6 separate regions of the Homo sapiens genome follow, and all the other regions are linked to region 3. Evidence: promoter capture Hi-C in human tissues and cell types (Jung and others, 2019). All regions are on one chromosome and are shown on one strand. Each heading gives the region's core, a stretch centred on a gene start or on the middle of the fragment in contact. The rest is flanking DNA. Distances are from core to core; before and after follow the strand shown.

Evidence for each region. The method cuts DNA at HindIII sites, captures the fragments that hold promoters and counts their contacts. A contact is called where the count stands out against the background at its distance.
Region 1: a contact is called between a fragment that was not itself captured here and the fragment with the promoter of ACOT1 in region 3, in 2 of the 25 tissues and cell types used here (dorsolateral prefrontal cortex and mesenchymal stem cells).
Region 2: a fragment that was not itself captured here is called in contact with the fragment with the promoter of ACOT1 in region 3 in 1 of the 25 tissues and cell types used here (liver).
Region 4: a contact is called between a fragment that was not itself captured here and the fragment with the promoter of ACOT1 in region 3, in 2 of the 25 tissues and cell types used here (dorsolateral prefrontal cortex and mesenchymal stem cells).
Region 5: a contact is called between a fragment that was not itself captured here and the fragment with the promoter of ACOT1 in region 3, in 1 of the 25 tissues and cell types used here (dorsolateral prefrontal cortex).
Region 6: a contact is called between a fragment that was not itself captured here and the fragment with the promoter of ACOT1 in region 3, in 2 of the 25 tissues and cell types used here (dorsolateral prefrontal cortex and spleen).

The regions. Positions count from the first base shown.
Region 1 is chr14:73,847,264-73,850,781 of GRCh38, forward strand. No RefSeq gene overlaps it. Among named protein-coding and RNA genes, the nearest start is that of PTGR2, 2.8 kb to the right of the region's middle. The HindIII fragment of the contact is 4,503 bases long and covers 1-3,518 here.
Region 2 is chr14:73,180,225-73,183,830 of GRCh38, forward strand. All of the region lies in intron 5 of PSEN1 (presenilin 1), which reads left to right. Among named protein-coding and RNA genes, the nearest start is that of PSEN1, 46 kb to the left of the region's middle. The HindIII fragment of the contact is 5,864 bases long and covers 1-3,606 here.
Region 3 is chr14:73,535,569-73,539,282 of GRCh38, forward strand. ACOT1 (acyl-CoA thioesterase 1) reads left to right here and starts at 1,575. Exons shown (of 3, transcript NM_001037161.2): 1 at 1,575-2,310. The coding sequence starts at 1,854. All of the region lies in intron 1 of HEATR4 (HEAT repeat containing 4), which reads right to left. It also overlaps the pseudogene NT5CP2. The HindIII fragment of the contact is 14,338 bases long and covers 1-3,714 here.
Region 4 is chr14:73,202,251-73,205,737 of GRCh38, forward strand. All of the region lies in intron 8 of PSEN1 (presenilin 1), which reads left to right. Among named protein-coding and RNA genes, the nearest start is that of PAPLN, 34 kb to the right of the region's middle. The HindIII fragment of the contact is 4,667 bases long and covers 1-3,487 here.
Region 5 is chr14:73,114,736-73,118,470 of GRCh38, forward strand. The region is part of intron 18 of RBM25 (RNA binding motif protein 25); the gene reads left to right. Among named protein-coding and RNA genes, the nearest start is that of PSEN1, 20 kb to the right of the region's middle. The HindIII fragment of the contact is 4,963 bases long and covers 1-3,735 here.
Region 6 is chr14:73,898,794-73,902,106 of GRCh38, forward strand. All of the region lies in intron 5 of ZNF410 (zinc finger protein 410), which reads left to right. Among named protein-coding and RNA genes, the nearest start is that of ZNF410, 14 kb to the left of the region's middle. The HindIII fragment of the contact is 5,178 bases long and covers 1-3,313 here.

The DNA of each region.
Region 1 (3,518 bases), core at 633-3,132, 310 kb after region 3:
GGCTGAGGCAGGTGGATCACTTGAGGTCAGGAGTTCAAGACCAGCCTGGCCAACATGGTAAAACCCCGTATCTACTAAAAATACAAAAATACAGGCATGGTGGTGGGTGCCTGTAGTCCCAGCTACTTGGGAGGCTGAGGCAGGAGAATCACTTGAACCTGGGAAGCAGAGGTTGCAGTGAGCCAAGATCCCGCCACTGCACTCCAGCCTGGGTGATAAAGCAAGACTCCATCTCAAAAAAAATTAAAGTAAATAAATAAATAAATAAGCTTTTATTTAATAGCAGTGAAATAGCTTATAGCATTCAAGCCCCTAAAGAGATCAGTCATACCAATAGGAGGTACAGGGGAGAAAATTTTGCTTTGCAATTTTGAGATACATTACCCACAGTGACTTTAACTAAAAGGAGTGGGAGAAAATTCAGGTCCAACAGAGGACAACTCTGACTGGCCATGTTAGTTCCAAGCTCCCCGGGGAGTTCAGCTTCTCCTGTTGCCCAGTCCTGCTTTCTTCCTCTTCCTCCGATAGGTATTGATTCAAAAGGTATTCCCTAATAGACATCCTGCATACCAAACTCCCCATCAGGGTTTGCTTTCCAGAGAACCCACCTTGTAATAGGCACAAATATGACCTTTTTCTAAATGCTCAATTTTTCTGAAAAAGCATTTATTTAAGCTTGAGTTTCACAGGATTCGGTTACAGCATTTTTTTTTTTTTTTTTTTTTTTTTTTTTTTTTTGAGACAGAGTCTTGCTCTGTCACCCAGGCTGGAGTATAGTGACGTGATCTGGGCTCACTGCAACCTCTGCCTCCCAGGTTCAAGCCATTCTTTTGCCTCAGCCTCCTGAGTAGCTGGGTTTATAGGCGCTCGCTACCATGCCCGGCTAATTTTTTGTATTTGTATTTGTATTTTTGTATTTTGTATTTTTAGTGGAGACAGGGTTTCACCATGTTGGCCAGGCTGGTCTCGAACTCCTGACCTCATGTGATCCGCCTGCCTCAGCCTCCCAAAGTGCTGGGATTACAGGCATGAGCCACCGAGCCCAGCCAGGTGTGGTTTTTATCTCTTACTTTGTTCTGTTATCTCTTTAGGATGTATGTTTGGGTTTGAATTTGTGTCATTATGAACAATTATCACCTCCATGGAAAAATGTTTTATTTAGCATCAAATAATCTTTGATGTTGCACTAAGTGTCATATACCATGCAGGTTGGTCAAACTTGAATGATTTCTCCTGAGTAATTTGCTATCATACGAGGTTATTTTCATTTAAAAATAATTTAATGAATGAAAAAACTAAAAAATAATTTAATGAATGAGTATACAAACATATTAGATTAAGTATTTATATTTATTTTATTTATTTATTTATTTCTGAGATGGAGTCTTGCTCTGTCGCCCAGGCTGGAGTGCAGTGGTGCAATCTCTGCTCACTGCAAGCTCTGCATCCCGGGTTCATGCCATTCTCCTGCCTCAGCCTCCTGAGTAGCTGGGACTATAGGCGCCCCCACCACGCTCAGCTAATTTTTTTGTATTTTTAGTAGAGACGGGGTTTCACCGTGTTACCCAGGATGGTCTTGATCTCCTGACCTTGTGATCCGCCCACGTCAGCCTCCCAAAGTGCTGGGATTACAGGCGTGAGTCACTGCGCTCGGCCAAGTATTTATATTTATTATGCATTTTTTTTTTTAAGAGACAGAATCTCATTCTGTTGCCCAGGCTGGAGTGCAGTGGTGCAAACACAGCTCACTGCAGCCTCGCCCTCCTGGGCTCAAGTGATCCTCACACCTCAGTCTGTCAAGCAGCTGAGACAACAGGCACACACATCACACCAGGCTAATTTTTAAAATTTTTTGTAGAGGTGGGTTTTGCCATGTTGCCTAGGCTGGTGTTGAACTCCTGGGCTCAATCGATCTTCCTACCTCTTGGCCTACCAAAGTTCTGGGATTACAGGTTTGAGCCACAGTGCCTGGCTTTTTTTTTTTTTTTTTTTCTTTTTTTGAGACAAAGTCTTACTCTGGCACCTAGGGTGGAATGTAGTGATGAGATCATAGCTAGCTGCAACTTGGAATTCCTGGGTTTAAGCGATCCTCCTGCCTCAGCCTCATGAGTAGCTGCTGGGACTGCAGGTGTGTGCCACCACACCTGGCTATTTTTTTTCTTTTTGTTTTTTTTTTTGGTTGTTGTTTGTTTTTTGTAGAGATAGGGGTCTCCTATGTTGCCCAGGCTGGTCTGAAACTTCTGGCCTCAAGTGATCCTCCTGTCTCGCCTCCCTAAGTGCTGGAATTATGAGTGTGAGCCACTGCACCTGGCCTATATTTATCATGCTTGAATGAAACAATATATACTATGTATTTTTTTTTGATAAGATGGAGATGAGAAGAATTGACACTTCCTTCTAGTGAAGTCTAGAAAATGATTCTCAGGGCTGGGCGTGGTGGCTCATGCCTTTAATCCCAGCACTTTGGGAGGCCAAGGCAGGTGGATCACCTGAGGTCAGGAGTTTGAGACCAGCCTGGCCGACATGATGAAACCCCATTTCTACTAAAAATACAAAAATTAGCTGGGTGTGGTGGCATGCACCTGTAGTTCCAGCTACTCAGTAGGCTCAATTGCTTGAACCCGGGAGGCAGAGGTTGCAGTAGGCCGAGATCGTGCCACTGCACTCCAGCCTGGGCGACAGAGAGAGACTCCGTCTCAAAAAAAAAAAAAAAAAAAAAGAAAAGAAAAAAGAAAAAAAAGAAAATGATTCTCAGGAATTGCTTGAACGATGAGAAGGAGGCAGTACAAAGTTCTGCAAAGAGGGAGGAGTAGGGAATTCCAGATTTATGGCAAATATAACAAAGGGTCAGGTGCTTGGACTCAGGCAGGATAACTTGCTCCTTTACTTATTAGTTACTTAACCTGACTTAGAACTTAACTAGCTTAACTTCGGTTTCCTCATTCGTAAAATGGTAATAATAATAATAGGGCTGTTTTGAAAATTAAATCATGTAGGCAAAAAATCATATAAGGCATTATCCAACTCAAACTACGCATTATGTAAATGATAGTAATCCTTGGTGTTAGAGAAAATTTAGAAGAAGAGGATAAACTGGATAGAAATGTACCTATAAATCCTCTACTCATCTCTTGAATTTTTGGGAACTCATTTTGGCGAGAAAAATCACACTTGTTACAAGGAGTTCACAGACCCTAGAATCAAGAGAGCTAAAACTAATTAATACACATACATATATTTAAAATTTTTGAGACAAGGTATCAGTCTGTCACCCAGGCTGGAGTGCAGTGGTGTGATCAAGGCTCGCTGCAGCCTACTGAGCAGCTGAGAGACTACCAGCAAGCACCACCACACCTAGCTAATTTCATTTTATTTTTTATTTTTTGAAGAAATGCGGTTTCACCACGTTGCCCAGGCTGGTCTCGAACTCCTGACTCAAGCAATCCACCTGCCTCTGCCTCCCAAAGGTCTGAGATTACAGGCGTGAGCCACTGCGTCCAGCCCCAAAACTAATTTAA
Region 2 (3,606 bases), core at 979-3,478, 350 kb before region 3:
TCCACTGGTTTCGGCCTCCCAAAGTGCTGGGACTACAGGCCTGAGCCACCACGCCCAGCCTTATCCTTCATTTTAGACAGTTTAAGAGGTTTGTATTCAGCCAGATCTCCACATTTACTTGTTCATTTGTGTTGTGATGTTTTTTAATGTTCAAGTCTTAGCACACACAAACAATTATATAGAAACAAGTTGTTTACTTTGACACCCAGTATAACTAAAAGGATCTTTTGAGTCAGAGATTGAGTAACTTGCCAGAGCCTGTTTGGAAATAAACCCTGAGGATTTTTCATATCAGTGGTTGGTTATGCAATGTCTGTGGCAAGCCCTAGAAACTAAAAGACCAAACCTTAAAATGTTAAAAACAGGAAAGGCAGTTAATTATTATACATAATTTGTTATAAAAGGAACTATAACTTATTAAAGTCAGATGATTTCTGGCCTTGATAGTTTAGGGTTTAGAGAAGATACTGTTGTGTACTATAAAACAGCAGGGCTGTTTTCTTTCATACCCTTTAGCACAGGAAAGCTGAACTAGGGATTTTTGCAAGATGAGAAAGGCCTGTTGAAATGTGTGTGTATAACATAGTAATAAAAGAAATGCATATGAAAATAACAAATTAACATATTTGACATATTGACTTTGTCAAGATTAGTCTTTTTTGTCAAGTAACTAAGCCAGTGTGTATTAATTAAATCAGTAATTAGAAAAAGTTTGTACACTTTGATTTAGTAATTTTGCTTTTATGATATATTCTAAAGAAGGAATTAGAAATGCAGAAAAATATTTGTGAAGTAGGATGTTCATTTTAATGTAAATTAAAATTGGGGAAAGAAAGGGAAAACAATACAGATTCCATGCATAAGGCAAAGGTTCAATTGTGGGTTTATCCGTATGAGTAGACTATTATTTTGTCATTTAAAAATCATAGTTTCAGCTGGGCGTGGTGGCTCACGCATGTAATCCCAGCACTTTAGGAGGCTGAGGTGGGCGGATCACCTGAGGTCAGAAGATCGAGACCAGCCTGACCAACATGGAGAAATCCTGTCTCTACTAAAAATACAAAAAAATTAGCTGGGCGTGGTGGCGAGTGCCTGTAATCCCAGCTACTCAGGAGGCTGAGGCAGGAGAATCGCTTGAATCTGGGGAGTGGAGGTTGCGGTGAGATTGCGCCATTGCCCTCCAGCCTGGGCAACAAGAGCAAAACTCCATCTCAAAATCAATCAATCAATCAGTCAATCAATCATAGTTTCACGCCAGGTGCAGTGGCACGGACCTGTAGACCCAGTTACTTGGGACCCTGAGACGAGATGATTGCTTGAGCCCAGGTTTTCCAGTCTAGCCTGGGAAACATAGTGAGACCCCAGTCTCTTAAAAAAAAATCATATTTTCAAATAATATTTGGTGGCATGAGAATATGTTTGTAATAAAAGATTACATTTGTGAAAGCAGAATGTAAACAGTACACTAGTTGATTCTCACTGTTAAGGTCTTTACACACGCCTATACGTGCAGATAGAAAACATGTCTGAAAGGGAAACGGTTTTATTTTGTTTCGTATTTTTTTTTGAGACAATGTCTCACTTTGTCAGTCAGGCTGGAATGTAGTGGCACTGTCTCGGCTCACTGCACCCTATACCTCCTGGGTTCAAGCAATCCTCCCACCTCAACCTCCATGGTAGCTGGGACTACAGGCACCTGCCACCACGCCTAGCTAATGTTCGTATTTTTAGTAGAGACGGGGTTTTGGCATGTTGGTCAGGCTGGTCTTGAACTCCTGACCTCAGGCAATCCACCTGTCTCAGCCTCCCAAACTGCTGGGATAACAGGCGTGAGCCACTGTGCCTGGCCTGAAAGGGAAATGTTGGTATTAATTTTGGTTGTCACTGGCCTTTAGAATAGTTTTCTTCTTTTAGTGTTTCTGTGTTTCTTAAGTGTTACAAGCATATGTTACTTTTGATTCAGAAAAATGCTATTTTTAAAATAAGCAAGACTGGGCACGGTGACTCTCACCAGTATGGCTGAGACCAGAGGATCACTTGAAGCCAGGAGTTCAAAACCAGCTTGGGCAACAGAGTGAGACCCCCACCTCTACAAAAAGAAAAAAAAAAAATTAAAAAATTAGCCAGGCATGGTGGTGTACCCACGCCTATAGTCCTAGGTACTAGGGAGGCTGAGGTGGGAGTATGGCTTGAGCCCAGTGGTTCGAGATTGCAGTGAGCTACGATCATGCCACTGTACCCCAGCCTGGGCAACACAGTGAGGCCCTATCTCAAAAAATAATTAAAAAAAAAATATTTGGGGGCTCCTAGAAGGTACAGTTAAAAAAATTAAAATTAGGCCGGGCATGGTGGCTCACGCCTATAATCCCAGCACTGTGGGAGGCTAAGGAGGGTGGATCACTTGAGATCAGGAGTTCAAGACCAGCTTGGCCAACATGGTGAAACTTCATCTCTAATACAAAAATCACCTGGGCGTTGGTGGTGGGTGCCTGTAATCCCAGCTACTCGGGAGGCTAAGGCAGGAGAATTGCTTGAATCTGGGAGGTGGAGGTTGCAGTGAGCCAAGACCATGCTACTGCACTCCAGCCTGGGCGACAAAGTGAGGCTTCATCTCCCAAAAATAAATAAATAAAATTAAAAAAAGAAATAAATAAGAACATCTCCTTCTTCCTTTGCCAAAAAACCGAGGTGAAAAGCATCTCTCAAGAATGATGAGAATTTCAATTATTTAATATTTACTCTGGTCCTTAATTTAAAGCTTAATATGGAATCCCAGTGTACATCTCCCACTGGTATTGTTTGTCTTGGCCAAGACAGACAAGTTTTAAAGAGTGAGATAAAATTTAGGCTAAAGTTGAAGTATTTGGAGGGAAATGTACAGATGTTCTCAGCTTACCTTTTTTGTTTTTTTGAGATGGAGTCTCGCTCTGTTGCTCAGGCTGGAGTGCAATGGTGCGATCTCAGCTCTCCACAACCTCCGCCTCTCAGGTTGAAGTGATTCTCCTGCCTCAGCCTCCCAAATAGCTGGGACTGCAGGTGTGTGCCACTATGTCTGGCTAATTTTTGTATTTTTTTTTTTTAATTTATTTTTTATTGATAATTCTTGGGTGTTTCTCACAGAGGGGGATTTGGCAGGGTCATAGGACAATAGTGGAGGGAAGGTCAGTAGATAAACAAGTGAACAAAGGTCTCTGGTTTTCCTAGGCAGAGGACCCTGCGGCCTTCCGCAGTGTTTGTGTCCCTGGGTACTTGAGATTAGGGAGTGGTGATGACTCTTAACGAGCATGCTGCCTTCAAGCATCTGTTTAACAAAACACATCTTGCACCGCCCTTAATCCATTCAACCCTGAGTGGACACAGCACATGTTTCAGAGAGCACAGGGTTGGGGGTAAGGTCACAGATCAACAGGATCCCAAGGCAGAAGAAGTTTTCTTAGTACAGAACAAAATGAAAAGTCTCCCATGTCTACTTCTTTCTACACAGACACGGCAACCATCCGATTTCTCAATCTTTTCCCCACCTTTCCCGCCTTTCTATTCCACAAAGCCGCCATTGTCATCCTGGCCCGTTCTCAATGAGCTGTTGGGCACACCTCCCAGACGGGG
Region 3 (3,714 bases), core at 325-2,824:
CGCCATTCTCCTGCCCCAGCCTCCCGAGTAGCTGGGACTACAGGCGCCTGCCACCACGCCCGGCGAATTTTTTGTATTTTTGGTTTTTTTTTAGTAGAGACGGAGTTTCACTGTGTTAGCCAGGATGGTGTCGATCTGCTGACCTCGTGATCCACCCGCCTCGGCCTCCCAAAGTGCTGGGATTACAGGCGCGAGCCACCGCGCCTGGCCCCTTTTTCTTGTTAGAGACAGGGTCTTATCCAGGTTGGTCTGAAACTCCTGGCCTTAAGAAACCCTGCCACCTCAGCCTCCAAGTAAACTGGGATTATAGGCGTGAGCCACCTCACCCAACTTCCACTTCCCAGCTGTATGATCTTCAGAAAATCAGTTAAATTCTCTGGGCCTTAATTTACTACTACGGTTCTTGTAAGTATTAACAATTAGCTACTATTATTTACCTTCTTTAGTTCCTGAGACTTCTATGCACAGAATATACTTGATGTGTGCCACAGAACCTATACAAAGGTAATTACAACTAACAGGGAGTTGTATGATAATGACATGGGACATGGGACATGAGAGCATTTGGAAAGAGATAAAAAGGCTTACCTTGAGGACAGCCTTATTAGGAGCAGAGGCAAACACAGGTTTTGTGAGTTTGAAGCTTACGCATTTATAGGTTTCTCTAATTACCAAGATAGGAAATTATGAAATCAGGTACAAGGGCTTGGGAGGGGCCTAAAGCTTAAGTTTGATGAAAAAAAAAAACCACCTCTGGTTGGAACCAATAGCCTATGAAAAAGTAGAAAAAAGCCCAATGCATGGGGAGCGCCGGTAGTCCCTTGAGGTGTTTGAGAGGCTGAGGCAGGAAGATGGCTTTAGCCCAGGAGTTTGAGGCTTGTAAGTGCGCAGTGATGGTAAACCGCCGCTGTACTCCAGACTGGCAACGTAGTGAGACCCTGTCTCTTTAAAAAAAAAAAAAAAAAAAAAAAAAGATGAGAGGTAACACTTGCCTGACTGGGACAAAAATGAGAAACCAGTATAAGAAAATAATAACTATTGGCCGGGCGCGGTGGCTCATCGCCTGTAAATCCCAGCACTTTGGGAGGCCGAGGCGGGCGGATCACAAAGTCAGGAGTTCGAGAAATTAATAACTATTACCTCATTTGGCTATTTTTACACCTGTAAGGAATAAAGCTCAGAGGTCACACAGCTAGTAAGAAGCCAGCACCCTTCGATGTGGGAGTGATGTGGAGGATAGGCATATACAGAGAACACGAAAGCAAAACACCATGGTGCAGATTTTGAAAGAAAAGCCCTAAGATTAGTAATGAGTGTGAATTATTCAACAAAGTGATCAAAACCAACTCCAGTCCTGCATTCCTCTTCGCCATCAGGAGTTTGGAGCCTGGAGACTGCTAGCTGCCTGGTTGTTGTTGTTTTTTTTTTTTTCTGAGACGGACTTTCGCTCTGTCGCCCAGGCTGTAGTGCAGTGGCATGATCTTGGCCAACTGCAAGCTCCACCCCCCGGGATCACGCCATTCTCCTGCCTCAGCCTCCCGAGTAGCCGGGACGAACCAGTCCTGGCCCAGCCCATTCCGCGAGCCAGCAAGCTTCTGAAAAGCAAACCTAGGAAGTTGCTTTCCAACATAAAGTGGAGGTTTCAACACAGGAGACTTTAAGCAAGTTCCAGTGTGTCTATATTTGGTCTGGCTGATCGGCTGGACTCTGGCCTTCCCCGCTCACATTAGCAGACAGCTCTGCCCTAGTGGGCGTTTAGCCTGCGACGGCAGCCCGAGAGGAAGAGTTGGGCAGAGTTGCAGGGGTCTCCACAGCTGAGGCAGTTTGGCCGGATTATTTGGGTTCCTGCTCGGATGGCGGCGACGCTGATCCTGGAGCCCGCGGGCCGCTGCTGCTGGGACGAACCGGTGCGAATCGCCGTGCGCGGCCTAGCCCCGGAGCAGCCGGTCACGCTGCGCGCGTCCCTGCGCGACGAGAAGGGCGCGCTTTTCCAGGCCCACGCGCGCTACCGCGCCGACACCCTTGGCGAGCTGGACCTGGAGCGCGCGCCCGCGCTGGGCGGCAGCTTCGCGGGGCTTGAGCCCATGGGGCTGCTCTGGGCCTTGGAGCCCGAGAAACCCTTGGTGCGGCTGGTGAAGCGCGACGTGCGAACGCCCTTGGCCGTGGAGCTGGAGGTGCTGGATGGCCACGACCCCGACCCCGGGCGGCTGCTGTGCCGGGTGCGGCACGAGCGCTACTTCCTCCCGCCCGGGGTGCGGCGCGAGCCGGTGCGCGCGGGCCGGGTGCGAGGCACGCTCTTCCTGCCGCCAGGTGACTCACCTCCGCTAATTGTTCCCCTCTGCCCATCCCTGTTCCTGCGCTTTCCACTGTGTGTGTGTGTGTGTCCCCTTCGCCCCGCCCCGCTCTTTTCGCTTGTGTGTGTGTCCCTCCTCCCGCCCCACCACCACCACCCCGGGCTATGTTGCCCAGGTAGGTCTTGAACTCCTGGACCCAAGCTATCCTCCCGCCTCTGCCTCCCCAAGAGCTAGGATTGCAGGGTGAGCCACTGCGCCCGGCCCTTTGAGGGGAGTTACACTTATTTTTTTATTTTTATTTTTTTTCGTCCCTGCGCTTTTCATACGGAGAAAGGATGTAGCTTCCAACATTCCGGAGGTTAGTGTAAGGAGACAGGAATGGAATGGAAAGTTGGTTGGGGAATTGCCCCTGCCGCTCCAAAACTGAGAGGTCCCTCAAACCTAGTGCTCAGTTAAAAGACATTGTAAGGGCTGGGCGCGCTGGCTCACGCCTGTAATCCCAGCACTTTGAGAAGCCGAGGCGGGCGGATCACGACGTCAGGAGATCAAGGCCATCCTGGCTAACACGGTGAAAACTCGTCTCTACTAAAAATACAAAAAATTAGCCGGGCGTGGTAGCGGGCGCCTGTCGTCCCAGCTACTCGGGACGCTGAGGCAGAAGAATGGCATGAACCCAGGAGGCGGAGTTTGCAGTGAGCCAAGATCGTGCCACGCACTCCAGCCTGGGCAATAGAGTGAGACTCCGTCTCAAAAAAAAAAAAAAAAAAAGGCATTGTAAGGAAAGAGAAAAGACACATAATATTAAAAACAAACAAAACAAAACAAAAAAAACAGGCCGGACGCGGTGGCTAACACCTGTAATCCTAGCACTTTGGGAGGCCGAGGCAGGCGGATCAAGAGTTCGAGACCAGCCTGGCCAACATGGTGAAACCCCGTCTCTACTAAAAATACAAAAATTAGCCAGGTGAGGTGGTGCACACCTGTAGTCCCACCTACTCGGGAGTCTGAGGCAGGAGAATCGCTGGAACCCTGGAGGCAGAGGTTGCAGTGAGCCGAGATCACGCCATTGTACTCCAGCCTGGGGGACAAGAGTGAAACTCCATCTAAAACAAAAACAAAAACAAAAAACAAACAACAACAACAAAAAATTTTCAAGTAGTTTCAATGTTCTTATTTATGTATGGACCAGGAAGTCACTTTTTTTTTTAATAAAAAGAATTCCAACTGGTTTTCTCACTGTATTTCCATGGCAGCTAGGAGGTGCCAGGTGGCTGGGCCTGTGACAGTGCAGAGGTTTTGGTGCCTGCCCGCCCACCATTGCTCCAGCTGCAGCTGCTGCCCCCTGCAGGGCCTGTTCGTTCCTGCTGCCTAGCTCCCTGCTGGCTGGCTATGATCTCCGTCCTGTTACCATTCCAGGAGA
Region 4 (3,487 bases), core at 109-2,608, 330 kb before region 3:
AGAAGGGAAAATACATTCTACTCAAAGTGAGTCCGTGGCAAAAGTGTGAGTACAGAGATGGGTGAGGAATTAGGACCAGACTTTCAGTCTGCAGCAACATTAAACATGTATGTTAATTTAATACTCAGAAAGAAGCATTTACTCTGTTTTAAAATATCTATCACATACTATATATATATATATATATATATATATATATATATATATATATATTTTTTTTTTTTTTTTTTTTTTTTTTTTTTGAGACAGTCTTGCTCTGTCACCCAGGCTGGAGTGCAGTAGCGTGATCTCGACTCACTGCAAGCTCCACCTCCCGGGTTCACGCCATTCTCCTGCCTCAGCCTCCCGAGTAGCTGGGACTCTAGGCGCCCGCCACCATGCCTGGCTAATTTTTTGTATTTTTAGTAGAGACGGGGTTTCACCGTGTTAGCCAGGATTGTCTCGATCTCTTGACCTCGTAATCTGCCCTCCTCGGCCTCCCAAAGTGCTGGGATTACAGGCGTGAGCCACCGTGCCCAGCCTATCATATATAATATTTTTAAAACTCAACGTCTGTGCTCGCTTTAGCAGCACATAATAGTAAAATTGGAATGATACAGATGATTTGCATGTATTTTTTTAAAAGTTCTCAAGTCTATTTAATAACCACAGAATATGAGACATTCTGAGATGTTTTAGAAACAGTTCAACATATGTGGGAAAATAGGAGTATAAACCCTTACCTCCTGTGTAGATCAGGTAGGTTCAAGATTGCATCTGTTCTTTTGTAATACTAAATGTCTGGTGAAGATTTGAGGATTTTATATAAATCATTGAGTTTGAGAGGTTTTTTTGTTTTTGTTTTTGAGATGGAGTTTCACTCTTGTTGCCCAGGCTGAAGTGCAATGGCACAATCTCGGCTCACTGCAACCTCCGCCTCCCAGGTTCAAGCGATTCTCCTGCCTCGGCCTCCTGAGTAGCTGGGATTACAGACGCCTGCCACCACGCCCAGCTAATTTTTTGTATTTTTGTATTTTTAGTAGAGAGAGGGTTTCACCATGTTGGCCAGGCTGGTCTCAAACTTGTGACCTCAGGTGATCTACCCGCCTCACCCTCCCAAAGTGCTGGGATTACAGGCATGAGCCACCGCACCTGGCCTTCGTTTTGTTTTTTCAACAGAATGTAAGAATTTTTTCTTACATTTTTCTTACATTTTTAACAGAATGTAAGAAAACCACAACGCAATGCCGATGAGTACTTTTTCCCTGAAGTGGATATAAGCATGAATATAAAAAGTTTTAAATCAGTCATCCTGGCTATTTGTTCTCTAAAAATCAATAAATAATTCTTTCATGCATTTTAATACTGTCTCCCAGTTAAGGGTATTCAGTTTGCAAAATGCTCTTACTGACAGGAAATGTATGAGCATTTTTGTTTTTTACTTCTGTCGTTTGACAGAAAAAATATACACCTACTCTTTGAGCTAATTTATTCTTACCTAGTGGTCATTAGTAGAAGTGGTTCACTCTGGGAGCTTAACTAGAAGGGAAACTAACAATTCCTTGAGGTAGATCATTTTATCTAAAGCTTTTTGATTTCATATCAGTTGGGGGCGGGTATATTATGTTAATTTTTAAATCTGCATATTTTCCAGCCAGGCATGACTATAATCCCAGGACTTTGGGAGGTAGAAGCAGGAGGATTGCTTGAGCCCAGGAATTCAAGACCACCCTAGACTACATTAAAAAACATATTTTTTTGTATTTATTTTTTATTTTATTTTTTTGAGACAGAGTTTCGCTCTCATTGCCCAGGCTGGAGTGCAATGGCACGATCTCGGCTCACCACAGCCTCCGCCTCCTGGATTCAAGCAATTCTCCTGCCTCAGCCTCCCGAGTCGCCGGGATTATAGACATGCACCACCACACCGGGCTAATTTTGTATTTTTAGTAGAGACAGGGTTTCTCCATGTTGGTCAGGCTGGTCTTGAACTCCTGACCTCAGGTGATCCACCCACCTCCGACTCCCAAAGTGCTGGGATTACAGGTGTGAGCCACCATGCCTGGCCTTTTTTTTTTTTTTTAATTTAAACGAAATCTGCTTATTTTCCTGTTGATGTAAGGTGTTTGTGTTAAGGTGAAATGAAAAGTGATTTTTAAAAAAATATTATTTTAGGACTATTTAACAAATATACTATTTATGATAATTAACATGGGGTTAGCAAACTACTGCTTGAAGCCAAATATGGCCCATGGCTTGTTTTTGTACAGCTTATAAGCTAAAAATGCTTTTTACATTTAAAAAAAAAAAAAAAGAACAAGGAAGAATATGTGACACACAAAACCTGAAATGTTTACTCCCTGGCCATTTACAGAAAAAGTTAGCTGGACATTGATTTTCATGTTACTATTAACTGCTAAAACAAAGGAGCTTGTAGCTATATTTTTTCATACTTGCATAAAGAAAGAAAACCTAATAAATCGCTGGTGGCTTCATTTCCAAAAGGCTATGGAAATCCATAAACAGGCTGGGTGCAGTGGCTCATGCCTGTAATCCTAGCACTTTGGGAGGCTGAGGCGGGAGGATTGCTTGAGCCCAGGAGTTTGAGTCTGGCCTGGGCAACGTAGTGAGACCCTGTTTTTAGAAAAAATGAAGATAAAAAACTAATCCATAAACCTCATACTTGGTGGTTGCCCTTCAGTTTTTCTTCTTTAGATCTGGATTTAGTTAAACAGTGTATTGCCTGCCTGGTTTCTGTTAACTTTTGATCATTTGGTTGGGTTATCCTATAATGAAACTTGGTTGACCTCAGAAATAACAAGGTGGTCGTTCAGCTTCTTTGATTGTGTGTTTCTTTCATAAGTTCTTCAAGAAGCCTGAGTATTAGAAACATGGATAAAATTATTGTGATAAAAAGCCAGAGAGACATAAATGTCAAGTATCTTGTTTAAAATTACTGTGACCAGGCCGGGCGTGGTGGCTCACGCCTGTAATCCCAGCACTTTGGGAGGCTGAGGCGGGCGGATCACGAGGTCAGGAGATCGAGACCATCCTGGCTAACACAGTGAAACCCCACCTCTACTAAAAAAAATACAAAAAATTAGCCAGGCATGGTGGCGGGCGCCTGTAGTCCCAGCTACTCGGGAGGCTGAGGCAGGAGAATGGCGTGAACCCAGGAGACGGAGCTTGCAGTGAGCCGAGATCATGCCACTGTACTCCAGCCTGGGTGACAGAGCAAGACTCTGTCTCAAAAAAAAAAAAAAAAAAAAAAATTACTGTGACCAGATTGGACTCAGCTTGCTGCTGGCATTTGGTTCCCACCATAACCTCATATGTCATGTGTTTGCTTATATGTACTTTTGTGTTATTGTTGGTGTATCTTCAGGATAAGTTCCAAAATGTAATATTGCTGGGTTAAAGGATTAATGCACATGTAGTTTTATTAGATGTTACCAAATTTCCCTCCAGTGGGGATTATACCATTTTTCATTCCTGCCTGAAATATATG
Region 5 (3,735 bases), core at 849-3,348, 420 kb before region 3:
ATACAAAAATTAGCTGTGCGTGGTGGCGTGTGCCTATAGTCCCAGCTACTCGGGGAGTCTGAGGCAGGAGAATCACTTGAACCTGTGAGGTGGAGGTTGCAGTGAGCCGAGATCATGCCATTGCACTCCAGCCTGGTGACAGAGTGAGACCCCATCTCTAAATAAATAAATAAGGCTTCATTCTTTTCCACCAGTTCCATTCATGTTTTCCCTATGCCCAGCACAATGTGCTAGAAGCATAAAAGTAGAACAAATGACCTGTAGTAGCAGAGAGATAGGTATACAGGTACTGGAACCTTGATGTACTTGTTTGAATTAGATATGTAGAAAGGATAATGGAGGTAGAGGAGATAGAACATCTGATGGCATTGATAGCAGTTAGGTTAAGCATCACAAGGATTACTACAGGAACTGATACGTGTGTGTGTGTGTGTGTGTGTGTGTGTGTGTGTGTTTTAAGTCGGATACATGTGCAGGTTTGTTACATAGGTAAACTTGTGTCATGGGGGTTTGTTGAACAGATTATTTCATCACCCAGGTGTTAAGCCTAGTACTCATTAGTTATTTTTCCTGATCCTCTCCCTCCTCCCACCCTCTGCCCTACGATAGGCCCCATTGTGTGTTGTTCCCCTCTCTTCGTTCATGTTTTTTCATCATTTAGCTCCCGCTTATAAGTGAAAACATACTGTATTTGGTTTTCTGTTCCTGTGTTAGTTTGCTAAGGATAGTGGCCTCCAGCTCCATCCATGTCCCTGTAAAGGACACTATTTCGTTTTTTATGGCCACAAGATTGTACATATGTGCTGCTTTTTGGACAGGTATCCAAACACCTGTTGTATTGACAGTAAACATCAAATCCCCGTTGCATTTAATTTGGGATTACAGTCAGTGGTAGCATGTAGTTAACACTGTGATTTTGTGAGACAAGGAAAGGAGAAGAAAATTGATGGTAAAGGTTGAGCAAGAGATTGAACTATGATCTCCAAGTTAGGAAGAGAAGAAAATAGTATCTGAATAGAGCTGGTGGTTTGAATGAATTAAGGACTAGTGGTTCCAGTGAAGTTGTGGAAGGCGAATTGTAATAAAACAACTGAAAGGAGAGGTTATGGTCAGAGTGTAGAAAGTTCAAGTCTATATGTGATAGGTCAGCCCAGACGATGGCAAGGTGCATAGTATGACTATGGGAAATTCCTGGGTATTGGGAGTCAGATTGGAGAGAAATACTGGAAATAGTTGCCAGAGCACTCATTTAAGTGGGGGGAAAGACTAGATACTTGCCAGATAGCTGCTCTTACAGTGGATAAGGTGGTGAGAGCTCATGAACGTCCATGGAGTTGTTTTTTTTTTTACCAAGAAAGAAACAGTGAAGACCCACAAGTCATTCCTGTGGAGATTAAGACATTGAGAGTGAGAGACTGCCTGAGAAGTGCCGGGGCTCTAGGAGATAGAGGAGGGTTTCTGTTAAGAGGAAAAACCTAATTTAGTTGTTGATGTGTAGTATAAAATGGAATAGCGGTCCAAAGGGCAGAGCGGGAAGACAGCAATGGGAAGATGAGTAAGGAAGGAAAAATCATCAAGCATGATATGAAATGGTAGATGACTGGGAGTACTTGCACTTGGAACTGCCACCAGAGATGTCAGGGAGGGACATCGTGGGGTTTATAGTCAAAAAGAAGGATTGTGAGGTCTAGCTGCTTTGTGTCCAGGCATTTTATGGTGTCTAAAGCCAGATAACATTCCTTTTCTGCTGCCTAGCTAGCTTGATGCAGCTGTCATTTAGAACACCTGATAAAACATTTGTGAAAACTTCATTGCCTCAGAGGAAAGGAGAAATGTGAATAGATTTCAGTCCTTGGGGCTGAATTCTGAACTTTCCTGAAGCTTCCAGCCCCGTTTTTCTTGGAGTAGAGGGTGTCGTAGTTAGGCCTGAGTGAAGACATTTTTTAAATAAAACTGTGTTCTAGCGTTTGGCCTCAGCAGAGTTCCTATCATACATAGTAAAGATTTCATGTCAGTGTTAATTTTAGATTTTTTGATCTGTTGTAATATATTGATATTTGAAGTGTATTTAGACCACTGTTTATGATTTTGTGGCTCGTTGATTAGAATGAGAGGAAACCAGTTGAGCTAGTGTTGTCAAACAGCTCTGCTAAAAAGCTCATGGGGCCTTGTAAATATTTCTTGAATAAATGAGGAGACTGAATTTTTAGCCTGAGTACTGTTTCACTCTTAACAAAAGTCTGACTTCTTTATATTATACCTTTTTCATTTTATGTAAATTAAATGAAGTTTGGTTGCATTTTGTGCCTACATCTCTCTGAAGTGTGACTCAGATGTGAATTAGTGTTACAACAGAGTTCTTCAACTAAAGTCAAATCTGGCTCATAGAAATCTGATCAAAAGTTCTTTAATTAATTATTGCTATCATTGAGAAAGTGACAGAAATTTCTTTCTTTTAATTTCTTTCTTCTTTTCTTTTTTTTTTTTTTTTTTTTTTTTTTTTTTTTTTGAGACAGAGTCTTGCTCTGTTTCCCAGGCTATATGGAGTGACAGTGGCGCGATCTTGGCTCACTGTAACCTCCACTTCTTGGGTTCAAGCAATTCTCCTGCTTCAGCCTCCCAAGTAGTTGGGATTACAGGTGCCCACCCGCACGCCTGGCTAATTTTTGTATTTTTAGTATTGACGGGTTTCACCATGTTGGCCCGGCTGGTCTCAAACTCCTGACCTCAGGTGATCTGCCTACCTAGGCCTCCCAAAGTGCTGGGATTACAGGCGTGAGCCACTGTGCCCAGTCTCTTCCCAGGTATTTATTAAGCACTTGTTATATACCAGTCAGTTGTCAGAGCACTTAACTACATACCAACTCTTTTAATTCCCACTTAGTACCTACTGCTATGGTGTGTAGCTACATCGCCTCCACTTTAGAGGTGAGGGAACTGAGGCTCAGGTTAAGTAACCCAACCAAGGACCTATCGCTAGTAAGAGGCAGCAGTGCAATTTGAACCTATGTAGCCTGACTAGAGAATTTGAACCAATGTAGTCTGACTAGAGATTGAGTACTCTAAATTCCTACCCCAAACTTCCTCTATGAAGACCTGGCAACACTAGACCACATTTCTGGAGCACAGTCATAGCTGCCCCCTTCAGAAGGGAGCAGAGTAGGCCATTTCACCTCATAGCAGCCATAATGTAGAGGGGCAGATGTGTGTATGGGATGATGGCAGGAATAGTGATGGGGACACAAGGACCCTATAACTCATAAGTAGAGAGGAAGACAATTTCCTCATCCACCACTGGAAGAAGACTTGTTACTCAGTAGTCATGTGTGCCCCGTGATGATTGTATTTGCTTATTGTGTTTACTGTATTCTGGACACTGTACTAAATACTTATATTCTCATTTAATGTTCACTTTAGTGTCACATACACAATAAATGCTAGTTAAGATGGTACGGTTGGGCTGTGCACAGCAGCTCAAACCTGTAATCCCAGCACTTTGGAAGGCCAAGGTGCGCAGATTGCTTGAGCCCAGGAGTTTGAGACCAGCCTGGGCAACATAGTGAGACCCTGTCTCTACTAAAAAGCACAAAAATGTAGCCAGGAGTAGTGGTGCACACCTGTAGTCCTAGCTACTGGTGAGGCTGATGTGGGAGTATCACTTGAGCCTGGGAGGTCAAGGCTGTAGTGCACCATGATCATGCCACTGTACTCCAGGCTGGGTGACAAGAGAGATCC
Region 6 (3,313 bases), core at 209-2,708, 360 kb after region 3:
CCTATACTACTTACTCTGTGTCACTTTTCTCTGTTCTAGTAATTTTCAAAGCATTGTCACTGGATCATTGACGTCACGTGGGAACTGAGAAATATAAACTCTCAGGCCCATGCCAGACCTACTGAGTCAAAAACTTGGTTCTGATACATGTTAAAGCTTGAGAACCACGGCTCTATTCAGACCACTGCAGAATCTTTGCTTATGTAGCATGTCATGGATACTTTTTTAGGTCTGCCTCTGTGTTTTCTCATTAACATGTGACACAACTCAATACAACATGGTTTAATGCTATCATTATCACAAACTAAGCTTAAGCACTTAGTACACAGTTGTTTGGAGTTTATGCAGATTATCTAGTATATGCTTATTATTATTTTTTGATTACCATTCAAATGAAAATAAAAAGTTAAAATTTCTCATAGAGAACTAGAGTTCCCTATGAATATTTTGAAACATTAAATCTTTTTTTTTTTTGGTCTTTTTTTTTCCCTTTTTATGGAGAATGAGGTTTTGCTCTGTTGCCAGACAGGTCTCAAACTCCTGGACTCAGGGTCTCCTCCTGCCTCTGGCTCCCTAAGTGCTGGGATTTTAGGTGTGAGCAACCATCCCCAGCCAAACTCTAAACTGTTTGTTTTCAAAATACTTAGTTCTGTTTATGACTACCATAGTGCTACTTAGAATGGTTCATTTTAACATTTTGGTGGGACCCTTAAAGTTCAGATTCTTCCTGAGATATATGTGCCAATCTCCAGATGCTGAAACCTTCAGCATTTCCTCTTACATTGAAGAAATAGTGTCATATTTGCCAATGAGAAGCAGCGTAGGGAGGGGAGCTTGCAATTTAGAATCTGGGAGCCCTGGGATCCAGGCCTGGCACCATCATTTACTGGTTCCCTGCCTTGGGCAGTTTAACCTCCCTTAGCTTCAATTTTCTTACGATCTGAACATAGAGATCAGGCAGCTTTCCTGACTGGCTTGTTATGGAGATTATGTAACATTCTATCTGGGAAATGTTATAATCAGCAAAGCATTGTGTGGATGTTTTTCTTACTCTCAAAGTATGTTGCCTTACTATCTTAACAACTACTTTGTATGCCTGAATATAAAATCACCCCAAATAGGCTGGGCATTGTGGCTCATGCCTGTAATCCCTGCACTTTGGGAGGCCGAGGCAGGCAGATCATCTGAGGTCAGGAATTCGAGACCAGCCTGACCAACGTGGAGAAATCCCGTCTCTACTAAAAATACAAAATTAGCTGGGCGTGGTGGCGCATGCATGTAATCCCAGCTACTCAGGAAGGCTGAGACAGAACTGCTTGAACCCGGGAGGTGGAGGTTGCAGTGAGTGGAGATCGCACCACTGCACTCCAGCCTGGGCAACAAGAGCGAAACTTGGTCTCCCAAAAAAAAAAAAAATCACCCCAAATATAAGACAATCTTTTATTTTCCAACAAGATAATACCCTAAAAGCCTTTTATTTTTTTCTAACTTAGTTATGTAAACTTTTAAGCATGTAGATAAAATTAACATTATAGGTTGCTATTTGGAAGCTTTATGATTTTGGTTATACATACACATTTTAATTTTTTTTTTTTTTTTGAGACCGAGTCTCAGTCTGTCGCCCAGGCTGGAGTGCAGCGGCGCAATCTCGGCTCACTGCAAACTCTGCCTCCTGGGCTCAAGTGATTCTCTGCCTCAGCCTCCCGAGTAGCTGGGACTACATGTGCATGCCACCATGCCCAGCTAATTTTTGTATTTCTAGTAGACACAGGGTTTCACCGTGTTGGCCATGGCTGGTCTCAAACTCCTGACCCAAGGTGATCTGCCTGCCTCTGCCTCCCGCAGTGCTGGGATTACATGCGTGAGCCACCGTGCGTGGTCCCACATATACATTTTAAATCATATGAAATATATCAATATTGCTTTCACCCACTAACACAAGCTTGTCCAACATACGGCCTGTGGGCACGTGTGGCCCAGGATACCTTTGAATGCAGCCCAACACAAATTCGTAAACTTTCTTAAAACATTATGAGATTTTTTTGTTTGTTTGCTTTTAAAGCTCACCAGCTGTCATTAGTATTAGTATATTTTATGTGTGGTCCAAGACATTTCTTCTTTCAGTGTGGCTCAGGGAAGCCAAAAGATTGGACACCCTTGCACTAACATGTAATGAAGTGATTTTATTCAATATTTTAATGCATTTTTAACATAAATATTTTTGTCATTGTTGACACTGAAGTCACTTTATGAGTCCTCTAGCATAGTTTTTCAGAGCATGTTATCTTCACTTACAGTCTAAGTTGTTTGAAATACAGAAACGTTTTAATTTTGCATAAGATGTTGTATATCAGATCAGCAAAGGCCTTTGGGCCAAATCCCCACCTGTTTTTATAATTAAAGTTTTATGGGAACATAGGCATCCACATTACTTACAAATTGTCTAAGGCTGCTACTATGGCAAAGCTGAGTAGTTGTAACAGAAACCATACGGCAGCCGGGCGCAGTGGTTCACACCTATAATCCCAGCACTTTGGGAGGCCAAGGTGGGCAGATCACTGGAGGTCAGGAGTTCAAGACCAGCCTGGCCAACATGATAGAACTCAAATACACTCTTTTCTGAGGGATTTTTTTTTTTTTTTAGGGAAAAATTTGCGTTATATTTATTTGACCATATATTGATAATCTTCATTCTTGAGCAGGAGGAGTTTCAGTGATTTCTTAGCCTTGCCTTATTCTATGTATTCATTTTTCCTATTTTATGATTATATTAATATTCTTATTGTATCTATAAAACGGAATCCAGAAAGCCCCTACTATCACTGATTTGAATCACTGTATTAGCATGATTTTTTTGGCCGGTGCAGTGGCTCATGCCTGTAATCCCAGCACTTTGGGTGGCCGAGGCGGGTGGATCTGTTGAGCTCAGGAGACCAGCCTGGGCAACATGGCAAAACCCCATCTCTACAAAAAAAAAATAGAAAAAATTAGCCAGGTGTGGTAGTGCACACCTGTCTCTAGTCCCAGCTACTTGGGAGGCTGAGGTGGGAGGATCTCCTGAGTTGGGGAGGTCGAGGCTGCAGTGAACCGAGATCATGCCACTGGATTCCAGCCTGGGCAACAAAATGAGACCCTGTCTCAAAAAAAAAAAAAGAAAAAATTTAAAAGAAAAAAGCATGATGTTAACAGACCTTTCATTAGAAATCAATTAGCTGGAGTTCTGGGGTTGGTGGGAAGATTCCTTCACGGCATATGTATTTTTGTGCTATATGTGTAGTTTTTTTTTTTTTTTTGAAACGGAGTCTCGCTCTGT